2 separate regions of the Homo sapiens genome follow, and region 2 is linked to region 1. Evidence: promoter capture Hi-C in human tissues and cell types (Jung and others, 2019). All regions are on one chromosome and are shown on one strand. The core of a region is centred on a gene start or on the middle of the fragment in contact, and the rest is flanking DNA. Distances in the headings are between cores, read along the strand shown.

Region 1 (6,305 bases), core at 1,731-4,230:
CTGGGTAGGAAGCCCTAGTGCCTCCTGCATCAAAGTCCCCAGGGACTGGTGACTCCCAGGCCCAGGCCTGCACTACCTCCAGAGCCCAGAGAAGAAATATTAGGTCAAAAGACATCCTTGCCTTTGGGAGGCCAAGGCAGGCGGATCACGAGGTCAGGAGATCGAGACCATCCTGGCTAACAATGGCTAACATGGTGAAACCCTGTCTCTACTAAAAATACAAAAAGAAATTAGCCGGGTGTGGTGGCGGGCGCCTGTAGTCCCAGCTACTCGGGAGGCTGAGGCAGGAGGCTGGTGTGAACCCAGGAGGCAGAGCTTGCAGTGAGCCGAGATCACACCACTGCACTCCAGCCTGGGCGACAGAGCGAGACTCAAAACAAAACAAAACAAAACAAAACAAAACAAAAGACGTCCTCACTGCTTTGGTTCTGGAGCTCATGATAAACTCCTTCCTCCCCGGGTCAGGCTTGCCTTGTTTAAACTGTCTGGTTCCCCTGGCCCGAACTTGTCCCAGCCTCCCCTCTGCCCCTCAACCAGCACCCACTAGTCCCCTCCACTGCCCTTCACACAGCCCCGTTCTTCCCCCATTCTTCCCCTGATGCCCTCAGCTCTACCTTAGACTTAGTGCTCAGGTCCCCTAGATTAAGGACCTGCCCAGCTGACACTACCAGGTTCCTGGGGGGCTCCTGCAATGCCAAGTCCTAGTCCCAGCCCCATACGTAACCTGCCCACCAGCAGCCTAGCACACAGAGCCCCATGTCCTGAGGGCTCTGGGTAAGGGAACATCAGCCCTGTGTCTACGCACTGCTCTACAAACAACCCTCGAATGGTCAGGTCACTCATGGGGCTAGGCACAGGACACAGCCTGAAGCCAGCCCAGAGACATGAGGAGGAAGACAGCTGGACTGGTACAAGCAGGGACAGCAGGAAGGTGCCCGAGGGACTGCAGCACAGAGGCCTTATATTTCTTTAAAGAGACAACGACAGATATTCCCTCCAGGGCTGGGTGAGGACAGAGGGACAGGGGCACACAGAATTCTTGGCCCAAGGCTAGTCAGATAACAGGCCATTGTCACAGAAAACCTTGGGTAAGAATCCCAGAGGGTTCACCTGGTCCAAGTAGCCCAGGAGAATGGGCAGCCTGCCCTCTCAGGTCCACGGGGGATCCGCCCATGTCTAGCTTCCCGAAGAGTGGAAGCCAAAAGCATTCCAGCACTAGAGTGGCCCAGATAGGCGAGCAAAGCCACAGGACTCTGGTGGGTAGGCTATGCACCCTGGAGGCTTTTGCCCGACAAGCTCTCTCTGCACACACACACTCCCCGAGAGGTACTCACTTGAATCCTCGAAGTATCCATTCTGCGACATGGTGGGAGAGTTTTCTGCAAGGGAAGCAGAAAGGTCACCAGCCCCATGGACCAAGCCCTGGACCTCCTGTGTGCACCTGTCTCCCCGCCCCCCGACCTGGCTCATTCCTTCGCTCTTCCGAGGGATGCAACCCACGCCACCCTAGGGAGAAAGGGAAGCAGGGGACAGTGCTCGGGAGGGGGCCCCATAGCAGGGGAAGCCAGCCTTAATCTCAGAAATTCAATTGCTTAGCCCATCTGCTAGGGGCTGCCCAGGCGGGCCAGAGGCGAGGAGGAGAGACGTTCCAGGGATGTCTTCCCACCGAGTTAGTACCAGTACCATGTTCGCTAATCCAGGTTTTCCTGAGAAAACCCTGCCCCGCTGCAGCGAGAGGAAGGGACCGGGCCCGAGCGGGCCTCTCCCCCTCTCTCCTCGGATGCCAAGGCGGGGGATCTCTCTGCACATCCCTCTTCTCACTCTCAGACCGGTCCTGGGGGCCATAAACGCCCATTGCAGGCGCAGTTCCCCCGACCCCCGTCACGCGCCCCGGGTCACACGGGGGCCGACAGGCAACGGTCTCCAGTCCTGGGACCGCGTCCCGGCCGCCTGGAAGCCAGAGCCGTTGGTCCAAAAGGGAGAACAATTGGGGGTGGGAGGAGTATCTGAGGGACACATGGGTCGGGGGAGGCTGCGCCCTCCCTGGGCCGGTCCCCGGATGGTCCCGGCTGTTTGTGCCTCGCTGTCGGAGGAAGGAAGCGACAGGAGGGGCCGCGTGCACGAGAGGAAAGCGCCTCCAGACTCGGAGACCCCGGGGGTCGGGGCGCAGGATGTGAATGCAGGCGCGGGGCGGGAGCCGGGGCTGCATCCTGAAGTGGGGGGCGGGGGCGCTGGGGCGCGTCCCAGGCCGTGGGCGACGAGGGTCTGGGAGGGTTGGGCCGGTGCACACTCCGCTTCCGTCCCGGCGGCCCACGTGCAGGTAAAGGGTCGTACAAACCTGGGTCCTGGCGGGGACCCAGGGCTGGCCCTCCCGTGTCAGAGCAAGGGAGAAACCGCTGCGGCCGCGCAGGGCACGGTCAGGGGTCCCGGGACTCCCAAAACTCCAGGGGTTCCGGGGCTCCCACCGCGGCGCCGGACGGGAAGATGCCCGGGCGGAAGGTAAAATGAGACCTTCCGAGGCGGCGGCCCGCCAGGCTCCCAAAAGCTCGGCGCTCGGGGCGCTGGGAGCCCCACAGCTCCGCCCTGCCCACTTTCGAGCTCCCCGCCCTCGACCCGCTGCATCAGCTGTTCAAACCTGGTAAGAAATTCAAGACGGCGACAGCAGAGCCCTAATGAAACCAAGCGCGCGGTGGCCGCGAAGCCGCGCCCGGGCCTCCCGCACCCGCGCCCTCCTCCCCGCGGCTGGGAATCCCGCAGCCCTCTCGCCCACCGGCCCCGGCCCGCGCAGGCAGACGGCATCCGCGTTCTCCCCGGGGTCCCCGACGGGAGACGGTGGCGGAGACCCGGGCGGCCTTCCCGCCGCGCCCCCGGGTTCAGGCACCCACCGCACGGCTGCAGATGGAACACGCGCCTGGTGGCCGCGGCCATGGCACACTCGCGCACTCACGGCCGGGCTCCTCACGCGGCGCTCCGGCGCTTCTGGACCCCAAACTCGGCGACTCGGGCGGGCCGGCGGCGGGAGCCGGCGACACACCCCCACGCCGCGCCTGGGTCCTAATGCCGCTCAGACGCCGCGCCCGGGCGCGGTAGGCAGAGCTGCCGAGGGCTGGGACCCGGCCGCCCGCCCCGCGCCCTCACCCGCGGGAGGCTGCTCCAGCCGGGCTGGGCTGCTCCCCGCCGCCCGCAGCTGCTGGGCCAAACCGAGTAGACCCGGCTCCTTCGAGCCTGTGCGCGCCGGACCCAGCAGACCCAGCGTCGCGAGTTTAGGGGCTGGACGGGGCCGGGGAGCTTCTGGGAAAACGTTCGACTGCGCCACGAGCCCACCGAGCTGTGCGACTGAGGCAGACCCCGGGAGGGCTTCCCCCGCGTCCGCTTTAAGTACGCGGCCGGCCCCTGTCTCCTCCTTTCGACCGGGGACCTCCGCAGGGCCACGCCCGCTGGCTGCCCCGCCTCCTGCATTTATCCCGGTAGCTCCGGCCGCAAGTCCTTCTCCTCCTCCTCCAGGAAGCGCGCCCCGACTGACTAGACGGACCTCCGTGCATTCCCCGGGCTACGCCCTCGCCCGCTGAGACGGCGCTCTCCGAGCTCGGCTGCTTTGGGTTTTCGCTGCGAGCCTCGCCAACTTATCTGCCAGCCTCTTCACGTCCTCGGCCTTCTATGAGGTCAAGGTCATGGTTCGCCCCCTTTTTCCTTCCCCAAATGGCCCTTGCGCCCTGTCCCCTTTCCTGGACCGGCTGCGACCCGCCCGGGGACGCGCCTTTTCGGGGCGCTTAGTCTCCTGCGAGTAGGGCGTGTGCGCGTGTGGGTGCGCGTGCTGCGATGCGATCCGGCAAATGCAGCTGACGAACCCCTGGCCTGATCCACGGTGGCTCCCAGTAGAAGGCTCTACAGCCCTTGGAAACGGAACACGCAGCTCCGTAAAGCGCTAACCAACCTCCCGACCCCTCCGGCCGCCATCGCTTTCCGGCTCAGCCGCGCTGGGACGGAGTCCTCGGCCACTGTGCCCTAACCATGGTAGAGGAACGGGGACAGGCCGGGGCAAGCCCACCTCTGCGAAGGAAGGGCTTCTGGCGCGTTGGGGAAGCCTCATGCATAGATTGGGTGAGTAAGGCTGGCCCAGTTCTCCTCCCGGCAAGATAAGAACGCATTAGGAGGGAAGCGCTGGAGTGCTCCTCTTGGCGACGGATGGCCTGGGGCTCTGCGACAGACTGAGTACCCCACCCTCCCCCAGCGCGACTCCAGGAGGCCTTGTGGAAGATCCCAACACCATGACCTGCAACTGACTTGGGGCTGGCCACATAGTATTTTAGCAGGGGTGACTCTGGAGAGACACCAGGTCATCCTGCGCACCCCTTGGGACCTTTCCTAGACGCCCTCCAGCTAGAGCTCCAGTCCAGGCACTGACTCCCGGGTGGCGGGTGGAGGCTGAGGAAGAGCTGAAGGACACAGGCGGATGTCGCCCCCGGAGCATGGCTGCATAGGTGGCATGCAGGCTGGATCCCTGAAAAGCCACCTTGCCACCCCCAGTCTCCCCCATCTGGGAATGCCTTGGCTTCTGCACCTGCTCCCAGCAGCTCCCAAACACCTGGTCCTTCCAACCCACTTGTTCCAGGAAAGCCTCTGGGATGGAGGGCGCTTCCCCTTACCACAGTCTCCTCAGCGCTCCTCAAAGGACCTAACCCCTCAGCCCACTGAGGAAAGAGGAGCCCATGACCAAGCCGCCCCTAGTCGGCTATGGGCCCCCTCTGTCCGCTCCCTGACCGTCTCTCAAAGGAACTGGCACTGAGCCCTTCTCTGCTACACCTGTGCTCTGCCCCTGCGGTTCTGTTCCCTCGGCCTTCCTGGAGGGAACCCCTGAGGCCCACACGCCTGCTGCCTCCAGACTGACCGTTTCAGAGGCTGTTTCCTTCAGTCCTCCCACCTGCCTCCTGTCCTGTGTAGATCGTCTGACGCTGAAGGCAAATACTGGTGCCCCAGATCTCCTGTCCTGTGCCCCACTGGGTCCTTACATAGGCAGGCAGGTTGAGGGACCCAGACGCAGGCACCCACTTTCCCTCTCATTCCCTCCCTTGGGGTCTCAGACTTTACTGGGCTGTGGACTTGAAACTGTAACCGCTGGGTTCCACAAGGCGCACTTAACAGTTTTCTGCTGTCCTCCCCTGATGCCACTTATCTTGCCTGTGGATTGTAGAATCTGGGGTCTGAAGTAAATGTATAACATCTCATTTTTAGGCCGGGCTTGGTGGCTCACACCTGTAATCCCAGCACTTCGGGAGGCAGAAGTGAGAGGATTGCTCAAGCTCAGGAATTCGAGACCAGCCTGGGCAACACGGTGAAACCCCGTCTCTACTAAAATTACAAAAACTTAGCCAGGCATGGTGGCATACGCCTGTGGTCCCAGCCACTCAGCAGGCTGGTGTGGGAGAATTGTTTGAGCCAGGGAGGTCAAGGCTGCAGTGAGCCAAGACTGCATCACTGCACTCCAGCCGTGGTGACAGAGAGAAACCCTATCTCAAAAAAAAAAGGGCTCATTTTAAAAACAAAACATTCCCCGGCCGGGCGCGGTGGCTCACGCCTGTAATCCCAGCACTTTGGGAGGCCGAAGTGGGCAGATCACAAAGTCCAGAGATGGAGATCATCCTGGCAAACCAACATGCTAAAACCCCCTCTCTACTAAAAATACAAAAAAATTAGCTGGGCATAGAGGCGCATGCCTGTAGTCCCAGCTACTCGGGAAGCTGAGGCAGGAGAGTTGCTTGAACCCGGCAGGTGGAAGTTGCAGTGATCCGAGATCGTGCCACTGCACTCCAGCCCAGGCGACGGAGCGAGACTCCATCTCAAAAAAAAAAAAAAAAAAATTTCCCTTAAAGCCCCTTGCCCTCCGGGTGCTGCCTTATCCCTCAGCTACATTTAAGAGGAAGTTTCTCCAGAGCTCCATGCCCCTCCCGCTATGTCTCTTCAACCGACTCATACCTGTCTTTTGTCCCCACCACACCACTGAAACTGCTGAGACTCCATCTCAAAAACAAACAAACAAAACAAAACAAAAAACAAAAAGTAAACCAGGTGCGGTGGCACATACCTATAATCCCAGCTACTAGGGAGGATGAGATGGGAGGATCCCTTGAGCCCAGGAGTGTTGAGACCAGCTTGGGCAACATAGGGAGACCCACCCATCTCAAAACAAACAAAAAACCCAAAGGAATGTTAAAGGCAGATATCTCCATGGAGGCATTTCAGGCCTATGACGCCCTCCCGAAGCTCTCTTCTCCATCCTCCATCCTCCATTCCACTCAGGCTTTCTG
Region 2 (6,305 bases), core at 2,276-4,775, 77 kb after region 1:
AATTGGCTCAAGGATGACACAGCACAAACCACCTCTGTGTTGTGCCTACAATCTGCTTTCAAAACACTATGCAATCTTGCCTCAAGGCTGGTAGTATTACCACATACTCCCTGCCTTCAGCAAATGTTCTTAACTCCTGGGTTCTCTGCACCAGGATCTGGAGAGGCAGAAGTGCAGGGACAGATGTGTTAACAAATGCCATTACCACTCCAGCAGTATGTGGATAGAAAACCAGAACTCCTTGTGCTTTGTCTTCTGTGTGAATGAAGGGGCAGAAGCTGAACCAGTGATCTGAGAACAGGGAGAGGAATTTGCCACCGGATAGAATATTTTCAACAAGAAGAACAAATCATCCAGAAAGGGGATTTGCTTAGTAGAGGTTGAGGAATTTGTAGAGTAAGTCAGAACTCCTCCCTCACATAAAGGCTATATTCAACAGGGAAAGAACAGGAGTCATAAGAAAATGTTATTTTGAGGAAGCCAAAGAGGAACTTGCAGTAAATCCCTGTAAAATCCATGCAAGACCAACAAGGTTTTTGAGGATTTCATATGAGCAGAAACACTGCCAGTTTGGATTGAAAGGGACAGATAACATATAAAATTGAAGGAGACTGTTGGACCCTCAAAATTCTACTGGCAAGAGGCAGGCTGTTAAAACTGCTCAGCTACAAACAAAGTACTACCTTTCACTGAAAAAGGAAGGATGACAGCGGTGTAGCTATAAGCTCAGAGGGTGGAGCCATGAGCCCAGAGCAAACCAAGAGCAAACAGGGTAGAACCAAGAGCACCGAGGCAGAGCTGAGAGCCAGAATTATTCCCAGGCCTTGAAACCTTATCAAGGAACTGAAGTCTGCCCAGCTGAATTTCAAAGCTGCCATGGGCTGGTGACTCCTTTTTACCTTCTGTTTTTCCTCTTTGTGAACCTGAAGTCTATGCCAGTCCCACCTTGCATGTTGGGAGGGCTGCAGGCAGATGACTTGTCTCTTTAGTTTCGTAGGTCCACAGACATGGAGAGAACTATGTTCAGGAGCTGTAGACAGATTACACTCCCAAGCCTCATTTACATGGGACTTAGATGAGCTTGATCATGAGATTTTAGATATTTAAGCCCATGAGATTTAGGACTTTGAACTGTAGCCATAATGGGATGAGACCCTTGGGAGGAGGTAACAAGGGACATGAATTATGGGGGGCAGAGGGTGGGCTGGGATAGGCAAAAACTTGACATGCTGATAGCCGAAGAGGAATTAGAGAGACTCAAAGTGTGTGAGAGATTCAATACAAGAAGGTTCTTTATAGCTGAGATGGAGGGGGTCACAAGAGCAAGGACTTCTGGGAGGAGGAGCTGAGAGGATCCCTGTCTGACAGCCACCAACAAAATGGGGACCTCATTCCTACAAGCGAAAGGAAACAACATCCTTGCTGAGATTGGGAGAAGATTCTTCCCCAGAGGCTCTAGATAAGAGCCTAGCCTGGCTGATGCCTTGATTTTGACCTCAAGAGATCTGGGTCCAGCCAAGCCTGCCTGAACTTCTGACCTGGAGAACTGTGAGATAATAAGAGGGTGTTGTTTTAAGCTACTAAATTTGTGGTCATTTGTTACACAGCAAGAGAAATGAATCCAGCTTCTGTTTAGGTCCACAAATTCTATTTCTGGAAATGCTGCTGCCCTAGCCCATTGAGAGAGCTAACTAACCTCAGGCAGCAACAAAAGGACCAGGTACAGTTCTGTGATCAGCCCTTCCTAGCATAAATTTCCTCATCTACAAAGTGGGTGGGTCGAGAGAAAAGCTGTAGGAAAACATTTCTGTACCACAATTGTGTTCAAATAGAAGATGTATTATTAATTACAACACCCATGCTGACATCTGCAAATGAGGGACCCAGACATGGCCAAAAACATTAAAGTCATAGCTCCTTACCTTCCTCAGGCCAGGACTGTAGATTGCTGGAATAAAGATATGCTCCTTCTCCTCCTGTTAGATAAGTGCCCAGGAAAGACTCATCCCCCTTTAAAAACAACAACAAAAACAAAAATCCAAAAAAGAATAGGTGATTTATAGCATAAATATTCACAGAATCAAAAGTCCTGCCCAATTATGTCCGTCTACAAAAGCTGAGTCAGGCTCAGATATGCCCAATGTATTCCATGGCCTTTGGCATTGTCTGGCTCTTTGGCAGTTACTGGCATCCTTGATTTGTGCTGAGAAAAAGAACATTAAGATTCTCTCTGAGTCCAGGCATCAAAGCCCGCAATGCTTGTTCATGTTCCAGTGGATTTATTTCCTTTGTGAAAACAGAGGCAGCTTCTCCTTGGCCTAAAGCCTTGATGTCTCAGCTCTACATGTCTAGGCCAATCTGGGATCTGCTTTTAATATTATGGGGAGATTTTTAAAAGAACACCAGAAGGCCCTGATGGAATAAAGAATCCCTCTAATTGTATCCCCCATAAATGGTTATTTCTAAAGCTCTGCTGGGAAGGGGAGGAATGCAAATAGGAAGTGAAGACAACATAGTGCAAGTCTTTTAGATTAGTAGTGAGATGAAGCATTTTAATACCTTTATGAATTGCTTACATTATTTTTTGATATAATGTTCACACTGAGAATAAGAAGGCTGCTTACCCTCACTGCTTGCTGGGTTTTCTCAGACAATTTTACTTCATTATCTTCCACCTGTGTCCAAAAGGAATGCAGATTTTCAGTCAACTACTTCAAGGGAAAACCCTGCTAGGTCTCCCCACTGTGTTCAAATATTTCCAGGACACTGGCTGGACAGTCCTTCCACCATGTCCATGTCCAGTGCTCTCAGGCCCTGACACACCTGAGATGTCTGCTGGTCACCTGGGCTCAGAGCCCAAGGCCTTGGTGGGCTCTCTCACTAGGACCTGAGGTCCAGCTAATGAGCTTATGACAAGCAGAGGGGATGTGTTAGTCTCCACCTGTATTTCACTTCAGAAAAAAACAACTGTTTTTAGGGATGAAGCAAAGATAATGTATTAAAATATTTTCAGATTTAAACACGTTTAGGTTAGAGGATAACTCTCGGTCTTCCCTGTCTGTGTGGGAACTGTAGAAGCAGAATGTGAGCACTCTCAAGAAGGGACTCAGCCCATTAGCAGACTAACTGCTGTCACACCTTTTACATTCCAAGGCCCCAGTTTCAGACCAAGTCCCTCCCACTGCGGAAGATGGGACTTTTCTACTAGCAGAGAGATGTTGCAGTAAAAACTCCGTAGCAACCACTCTACCAGGGAAGCAAGTCACGGGATCCACTTCTCATGATTTGTGTGACCTTGGCCGGGCCGTTCAACTCCTAAGCTCAGTTTCCTCATTTGTAAAATGAGGCTCTTAATTTCTTCCTTTCCTAATTTAACAGTGACCCACGTAACTTTGTTCCTTTCTTTTGAAACTTTTCTAAGATTATGAGAGTTAACGGAACTATGTTCATTTGTATAAAGAGAAAGGGCTGGGATCAAAAATTCCATTCCTGAACAACAGCTAGTTCAGGACCTGACATCCCACCAGGGGCCCAACAAAGAGGCTCTTCCTCAAGTGTTCACCCTGATTTCTCCACACGTAGGTCCACTTCCACCTGATGAATGACACTAACCAGCCAGGAGCAGAATCTGGGTACAGCAGCAGTCAGGACTACGGAGCTGGTTTCTGTGGTAACAGTGCCATCTGCAGGAACACCACACACATGCCAGTTAATTCCCTACCAGCTCAGCCTGCCTTGCAGGCCCCAGACCCTAAATGCCCTTCTCAGGAGCTAGGGTTCTTTTTTTTTTTTTTTTTTTTTTGAGACAGAATCTTGTTCTGTCACCCAGGCTGGAGTGCAGTGGCGCCATCTCGGCTCACTGCAACCTCTGCCTAGCAAGTTCAAGCAACTCTCTTGACTCATCCTCCCGAATAGCTGGGATTACAGATGCGTGCCACCATGCCGGGCTAATTTTTGTATTTTTAGTAGAGATGGAATTTTGTCATGCTAGCTAGGCTGGTCTCAAATTCCTGACCTCAGGTGATCTGCCAGCCCCAGCCTCCCAAAGTGTTGGGATTGCAGGCAACATGGCAAAACCCCGTCTCTACAAAAAATATGAAAAATTAGCCAGGTGTGGTGGCGCATCTGTGGTCCCTGCTACTTGGGAGGCTGAGGTGGGAAAATCGCTTGAGCCCAGGAGGTGGAGGTTGCAGTGAACCGAGATTATGCCACCACACTCCAGCCTGGGTGACAGAGCAAGACCTTGTCTCAAAAAAAAAAAAAAAAAAAAACCCCAAAACCAAGAAACAAAACTTTTGGGAATTAGTCCATTTTACCACTACTTTTTAATTTTTATCAAGGTAGTATAGGTATACATATTAAAGATCAAAGAGAATTATCAGGCTCATTCTACCATTCTTTAGAATATTTTCATTCCTTAGAATATAATAAATCTTTAGAATATTTTGCCAACCTAACAGGTAAAAAAATAATATCTAATTACTGTTTCAAATTGCTTTTTTTTGAGACAGAGTCTCACTCTGTCACCCAGGCTGGAGTGCAGTGGTGCGACCTCAGCTCAATGCAACCTCCGCCTCCTAGGTTCAAGTGATTCTCCTGCCTCAGCTTCCCGAGTAATTGGGATTACAGGCACCCACCACCATGCCCGGCTAATTTTTGTATTTTTAGTAGAGATGGGGTTTCACCATGTTGGCCAGGCTGGTCTCAAACTCCTGACCTCAAGTGATTCGCCCACCTTGGGCTCCCAAAGTGCTGGGATTACAGGCATGAACCACCACGCCCAGCCTTCAAGTTGCTTCTTCTTGACTACTAGTGAGATTACATATCTTCATTTATAAATAGTCCTCCTCTCTTTTTTGTTTTCCACGTCTGTGAAGTGCCTGTTCATTTTTTTTGCTCATTTTACTATTGGGTAGCTTATCTTTTCTTATTAATTTTGGAAGAGTTCTTCATAAATTAGGTTATACACCCTTTGTTCATCTTTAATGTTTCTCTTTTTTTTTTTTTTTTGATACGGGGTCTCACTGTGTCACTGAGGCTGGAGTGCAGTGCTGTGATCATCAGTTCTAATATTTTTACCAGTTTATTGTTGGCCTTTTGCCTTAGTTTATAGTTTATTTTGCCAAAAAAAAAAAAAAAAGGCTTAAGGTTTGCTTTCTAAAGATCACATATACTTACCCTTTTCTTTAACTAAGATCTGAGAAGTCAAAAATGATTCAGAGAAAACCACAGATCCTAAACAACCATTGCCTCCCAGTAAGTCAGGAATGTCATAGACGGCCATACAAGCCTGCATTGAATGAGAAACCAGTTAGATCAGTTACCAGCCCAAAACTTTCAGAGAAGTCCATAAGAATGAGACCACAAATACTGCCTAAAGGAACATGGCAAAAGAGTACTGAAGAGTTTCTAGGGAAAACTGGAGTTATCCTAAATACATCTTTGAACTGGGAGGTGACTTTAGGATCACCCAGGCTTCCCTGAAATTGCTCCCTGATCAGAGACACCCTTGGGCTATAAGGAAAGTATCCTTATGTTTCCGTATATTCCCTCAAATTGCTTTATGCTGACTAGGCACAGTGGCTCATGCCTGTAATCCCAGTAATTTGGGAGGTCAAGGAACCCAGGAGTTTGAGACCACCCTGAACAACACAGTGAGATCCCCACTCTACTAAAGAAAAAATTAGGCTAGGCATAATGACTCATGCCCATAATCCCAACACTTTGGGAGGTTGAGGCGGGTGGATCACTTGAGCCCAGGAGTTTGAGACTAGCCTGGGCAACATGGTGAAACCCCATCTCTACTAAAAATACAAAAAAAAATTAGCCAGGCATGGTGGCGTGTGCCTGTAATCCCAGCTACTTGGGAGGCTGAGGCAGGAGAATTGCTTGAACCTGGGAGGTGGAGGCTGCAGTGAGCTGAGATCGCGCCACTGAACTCCAGCCTGGGCAACAGAGCAAGACTCTGTCTCAAAAAAAAAAAAAAAAAAAAAAGAAAAAAAAATAGCCAGGCATGGTGGCGTCTGCCTGTGGTCTCTGTTATTCAGGAGGCTAAGGCAGGAGGATTGTTTGAGCCCAGGAGGTTGAGGCTGCAGTGATCTATGATCATGCCACTGCACTCCAGCCTGGGCAACGGACCGAGACCCCGTCTCAAAAAAAAAAAAAAAAAAAAAAAAAAAGCAAGAAAGCTATCAAGCTTTTATGGCCAAGACAAATAAAAGCTGAGGCTTCAGTAGCCTGGAAACAAAATTAGAACAACTCAGAGAGCTCCCAAATGTCTGGTAAGAAAGCCCTAATTTATTAGG

Evidence for each region. The method cuts DNA at HindIII sites, captures the fragments that hold promoters and counts their contacts. A contact is called where the count stands out against the background at its distance.
Region 2: a fragment that was not itself captured here is called in contact with the fragment with the promoter of SLC4A11 in region 1 in 3 of the 25 tissues and cell types used here (adrenal gland, bladder and hippocampus).

The regions. Positions count from the first base shown.
Region 1 is chr20:3,236,210-3,242,514 of GRCh38, forward strand. SLC4A11 (solute carrier family 4 member 11) reads right to left here and starts at 2,981. Exons shown (of 20, transcript NM_001174089.2): 1 at 2,886-2,981; 2 at 1,335-1,379. The coding sequence starts at 2,928. RefSeq lists silencers at 2,791-2,970, 3,071-3,230. The HindIII fragment of the contact is 33,876 bases long and covers 1-6,305 here.
Region 2 is chr20:3,313,111-3,319,415 of GRCh38, forward strand. It overlaps DNAAF9 (dynein axonemal assembly factor 9), which reads right to left. Exons shown (of 37, transcript NM_001009984.3): 17 at 5,179-5,290; 18 at 3,613-3,683; 19 at 2,625-2,675; 20 at 1,923-2,010. Among named protein-coding and RNA genes, the nearest start is that of SLC4A11, 77 kb to the left of the region's middle. The HindIII fragment of the contact is 6,892 bases long and covers 80-6,305 here.